Regions from separate parts of the Homo sapiens genome. Here region 1 is linked to region 2. Evidence: promoter capture Hi-C in human tissues and cell types (Jung and others, 2019). All regions are on one chromosome and are shown on one strand. Each heading gives the region's core, a stretch centred on a gene start or on the middle of the fragment in contact. The rest is flanking DNA. Distances are from core to core; before and after follow the strand shown. Region 1 overlaps DOCK3 (dedicator of cytokinesis 3). Region 2 holds the start of RBM15B (RNA binding motif protein 15B).

What was found. Contacts are between HindIII fragments. The study calls those that stand out against the background at their distance.
Region 1: a fragment that was not itself captured here is called in contact with the fragment with the promoter of RBM15B in region 2 in 1 of the 25 tissues and cell types used here (H1 embryonic stem cells).

The regions. Positions count from the first base shown.
Region 1 is chr3:50,919,112-50,921,872 of GRCh38, reverse strand. The region is part of intron 4 of DOCK3 (dedicator of cytokinesis 3); the gene reads right to left. Among named protein-coding and RNA genes, the nearest start is that of MIR4787, 250 kb to the right of the region's middle. The HindIII fragment of the contact is 3,259 bases long and covers 1-2,761 here.
Region 2 is chr3:51,390,034-51,392,774 of GRCh38, reverse strand. It overlaps RBM15B (RNA binding motif protein 15B), which reads right to left and starts at 1,490. Exons shown (of 1, transcript NM_013286.5): 1 at 1-1,490. The coding sequence starts at 1,375. RefSeq lists silencers at 877-936, 1,047-1,126, 1,167-1,646 and an enhancer at 1,967-2,016. The HindIII fragment of the contact is 5,063 bases long and covers 1-2,741 here.

The DNA.
Region 1 (2,761 bases), core at 188-2,687, 470 kb after region 2:
TTTGCTGTTCTGCAGCCTCCGCTGGTGATACCCAGGCAAACAGGGTCTGGAGTGGACCTCCAGCAAACTCCAACAGACCTGCAGCTGAGGGTCCTGACTGCTGGAAGGAAAACTAACAAACAGAAAGGACATCCACACCAAAACTCCAGCTGTATGTCACCATCATCAAAGACCAAGGCAGATAAAACCACCAAGATGGGAAGAAACCAGAGCAGAAAAGCTGAAAATTCTAAAAATCAGAGCACCTCTTCTCCACCAAAGGAATGCAGCTCCTCGCTAGCAACGGAACAAAGCTGGATGGAGAATGACTTTGACGAGTTGAGAGAAGAAGGTTTGAGACGATCAGTAATAACAAACTTCTTCGAGCTAAAGGAGGATGTTCAAACGCATCGCAAAGAAGCTAAAAACCTTGAAAAAAGATTAGACGAATGGCTAACTAGAATAAACAGCATAGAGAAGACCTTAAATAACCTGATGGAGCTGAAAACCACGCCACAAGAACTACGTGACACATGCACAAGCTTCAGCAGCCAATTTGATCAAGTGGAAGAAAGGGTATCAGTGACTGAAGATCAACTGAATGAAATGAAGCAGAAGAGAAGTTAGAGAAAAAAGAGTAAAAAGAAATGAACAAAGCCTCCAATAAATATGGGACTGTGTGAAAAGATCACTTATCACACTTATTCCAAAACTGACCACATAACTGGAAGTAAAGCACTCCTCAGGCAAACGTAAAAGAACAGAAATTGTAACAAACTGTCTCTCAGACCACAGTGCAATCAAACTAGAACTCAAGATTAAGAAACTCACTCTAAACTGCTCAACTACATGAAAACTGAACAACCTGCTCCTGAATGACTACTGGGTACATAACAAAATAAAGGCAGAAATAAAGATGTTCTTTGAAACCAATGAGAACAAAGACATAACATACCAGAATCTCTGGGACACATTCAAAGCAGTGTGTAGAGGGAAATTTATAGCACTAAATGCCCACAAGAGAAAGCAGGAAAGATCTAAAATTGACACCCTAACATCACAATTAAAAGAACTAGAGAAGCAAGAGCAAACGCATTCAAAAGCTAGCAGAAGGCAAGAAATAACTAAGATCAGAGCAGAACTGAAGGAGATAGACACACAAAAAACCCTTCAAAAAATCAATAAATACAGGAGCTGGTTTTCTGAAAAGATCAACAAAATTGACAGACCGTTAGCAAGACTAATAAAGAAGAAAAGAGAGAAGAATCAAATAGATGCAATAAAAAATGATAAAGGGGATAACACCACCAATCCCACAGAAATACAAACTACCATCAGAGAATACTATAAACACCTCTACACAAATAAACTAGAAAATCTAGAAGAAATGGATAAATTCCTAGACACATACACCCTCCCAAGACTAAACCAGGAAGAAGGTGAATCCCTGAATAGACCAATAATAGGCTCTGAAATTGAGGCAATAATTAATAGACTACCAACCAAAAAAAGTCCAGGACCAGACGGATTCACAGCAAAATTCGACCAGGGGTACAAAGAGGAGCTGGTACCATTCCTTCTGAAACTATTCCACTCAACAGAAAAAGATGGAATCCTCTCTAATTCATTTTATGAGGCCAGCATCATCCTGATACCAAAGCCTAGCAGAGGCACAACAAAAAAAGAAAATTTTACACCAATATCCCTGATGAAAATCGATGCAAAAATCCTCAATAAAATACTGGCAAACCGAATCCAGCAGCACATCAAAAAGCTTATCCACAATGATCAAGTTGTTCATCCCTGGGATGCAAGGCTGGTTCAACATATGCAAATCAATAAACATAATCCATCATATAAACAGAACCAAAGACAAAAACCACATGACTATCTCAATAGATGCAGAAAAGGCCTTTGACAAAATTCAACAGCGCTTCATGCTAAAAACTCTCAATAAACTAGGTATTGATTGGATGTATCTCAAAATAATAAGAGCTATTTATGACAAACCCACAGCCAATATCTTACTGAATGGGCAAAAACTGAAGCATTCCCTTTGAAAACTGGCACAAGACAGGGATGTCCTGTCTCACCACTCCTATTCGACATAGTGTTGGAAGTTCTGGTCAGGGCAATCAGGCAGGAGAAAGAAATAAAGGGTATTTAATTAGGAAAAGAGGAAGTCAAATTGTCCCTGTCTGCAGATGACATGATTGTATAGTTAGAAAACCCTATCATCTCAGCCCAAAATCCCCTTAAGATGATAAGCAACTTCAGCAAAGTCTCAGGATACAAAATCAATGTACAAAAATCACAAGCATTCCTCTACACCAGTAACAGACAGAGAGCCAAATCATGAGTGAACTCCCATTCACAACTGCTTGAAAGAGAATAAAATACCTAGGAATATAACTTACAAGGGATGTGAAGGACCTCTTCAAAGAGAACTACAAACCACTGCTCAACGAAATAAAAGAGGACACAAACAAATGGAAGAACATTCCATGCTCATGGATAGGAAGAATCATATCGTAAAAATGGCCATAGTGCCCAAGGTTATTTATAGATTCAATGCTATCCCCATCAAGCTACCAATAACTTTCTTCACAGAACTGGAAAAAACTAAAGTTCATATAGAACCAAAAAAGAGTCCGCATTGCCCAGACAATCCTAAGCCAAAAGAACAAAGCTGGAAGCATCACACTACCTGACTTCAAACTATACTACAAGGCTGCAGTAACCAAAACAGCATGGTACTGGTACCAAACAGAGATATAGACCA
Region 2 (2,741 bases), core at 241-2,740:
GAATATAGGCAAAGCTATCTCCTTTGACGTGATCAATGGTCCGAATGCTCCCAAAGCGGTCAAACTCTCGGGCCAGAGCCGCCAGTGACGTGTTAGGTCCCAGGCCACCCACCCAGAGACGAGTGGTGGGGTTGGCCTTGCCATAGCCTATCTTAATGGGGTTGCGACCAATCACTCGGCCCGACATGGCCACCTTAGCCCTATGGGCCATGTCCAGGTTCTGGAACTTGAGGAAGGCATAGGCACCGCCCTGGCCACGGGCAGGCCTCTTGATGACCACCTCCTCGATGATGCCATATTTCTCGAAGGCCCTTCGCAGCTCCACCTCAGATACGCTGTGGTCCAGGTTACCAATGAAGAGGTTGCGCGTGGCCCGCTGGTCATCCTCGGGCATCAGGTCCTCCTCACACACAGCTGGGTAGCCATAGGGGCGCCCACGGTCGTCGTACAGCCCGTAGTAGTCCAGGGCCCGCTCCCGGGACAGTCCCACGGCGGCGGCAGCAGCGGCATCCAGGGCGAAGGCTGCGGCGGCGTGACGGGCACGGGGCTCCCGCAGGGGCGGGGCAGCGACGGGGGACAGCGAGCGCTGCTTGTACTGGTAGCCTCCGTGTAGCGGGAGGTAGCCGAGCGGGTCGGCGGGCGCGGGCGGCCCTGGGGGAGGCGTGGAAGCGGCGGCGCTGCTGCTGCTACTTCGCCGACTGCTCCCGCCGCCGCCACGCAGGTACACGGGCTCTACCTTGAGCGGGCGGTCGTAGAGCAGCAGCTGCCGGGCCAGGGCGTGCTGGCGGGCCTCGCGTGCGTCCTGTGGGTGCCGGAAATTCACGTAGGCCACACGGCCCAGCTCAGGCGTGTGCGACAGGCGGAGGCTGATCTCGCCGAAGCGCTTGAACTGGTGGAAGAGCCGGTCCTCGAGGTGCTCGGCGGGCAGCGCGGGGCTCAAGCTGCTGATGAGCAACGTCTTGTACTCAGGCGCGGCCGCGGATGAGCCGGGACACGCGGGCTCGGCCCCAGGCGGTGGCGGAGGCGGCGGCAGAGGAGACGCGCGGGGCGACATGCCGGAGGCGCCCGGGTCCCCCGAGGCCTTGCCGCCGCGTCCCCCGCCGCCAGCGCCGGAGCCCGAGGAGCGCCCGCTACTCGCGCGGTGATTCGCGTCCCCGGTGCCGCGGCCGTCGCGATGCCCGCCCCCGCCGCTTCCGCTGCCGCGGGGTTTGTCGCGGGCCCGCGCTGGAACCGGGTGCTTGGCGCCGCCAGAGGCCTTGTGCGCCGCCCGCCGCCCGCCCGCCTCCGCCTCCCGTTCGCGCTCCCGCGGACGCTTGGCGGACGATGACGAGCCGCGCCCGCTCGGGCTAGAGTCTCGCTCGCTCTGCCGCTTCATGGCGCTGGCGCGGCGGGCGGGCGGCCCGTAGGTTTCTCACAGCGGCGGCGGCGGAGGCGGCGGCCGAGGAGGCAGCGCCCCCGGCGCCGCCATCTTGGACAAAAGGACTCGGCGCGGCGGTGGCGGCGGGGCGGGGCGGGAGCGGCGCCGAGGGGCCGGGCATTGCGTTATCAAGGTGCGCCGTCCTGCCACGTGACTCTGCGGCGGGCGGAGCAAGACCCGCGCCGGGCCTGCCTCATCGCGCTGCGTCGCCCAGTGCCAGGTGACCCTGTGAGTGCTGGGTGAGTGGGACCGGCCGCGCGCTCTGGCGCCACCGCGCGGCCCGCATGGCCGATGCTTGAGGCTACGCGGAGTGTAGTGAACCCTGAGAGGCCGGCGAGACGACCTAACGCTTTGTGCTCCCAGCCGTGCTTTGCCGCTCTGGGTCCAGCTATCTCCTCTTGCAGGCACTGGAGCCCGCGCTGATTGGAGCAGGAGTGGCAGCTTCCATGGCCGTTGGGATCTGGGGCATTGACCCAGTCAGTGGTCTCTTTATGTAGTATCCCCTCAGTCCTAGGACTAGGCTTGAGCAAACCCCACATCACCCTCGTTGGCATCTCCTGCCTGGGATCCGGCGTTGACGGCGCCAAGGACTAATGCATGCCTATCCTTAGACCCTGCCCAGGACCCAAGGCCCACATTCTGCGCATTCTCCACGTGCAGGTTCACCTGCAGCAGTCCCCGAAAAGGCCGTGAGGACAATTGCTGTCACGCAGGTAATAACCGAAAGCAGAGACAAGCCTGCAGTTGCAGTTGATGGAGTTGGAATAGACTCTTTAACGCCACTCTTGGGTCCCACCCTCTTCTGTGGGCAGATAGCAGGCTGGAAAGGTAGGGCCGTAAGAGCCAAGGATGAAGAGGCCATATGCACAGATAGTGCCAGCAGTTATCACACCTTGCCACGCTGACCCCTCGCTGGCCAGTACCCTCCTGTTCATCACCTTCAGGACGACCTCTTCTCCCCAGGTGAGGTGAGGGAAAGGGTGCCCAGGTGCTCAAGCCCATTGAGGAAGCTTTCATTCTCCAAGGACAGTTGCTGGAGCCATGGTAGAACCTGACCCAATTTCTGGCACAGAATCCTTGCGATGGGGAAGAGCAGACCAAGTCATGCCCTCTTCGCACAAAGAGAAAGCAGCTCCTGGAGTAGCTCAGGCAGGTGCAGGGGGAAAGGTCTTGGAAGAAAGCAATGGGTTCCACAGCAGCAAGGCCTCCTACAGGCAAACTGAGCTTAGGAGACACAAGTGAAGTGATCTGAGGCAAGACCAATTACTTGGAAAGCACTGGTTCTTAGTCCGTCCTTTCAGGTGGTTTCTACAGGTGTCTTCAT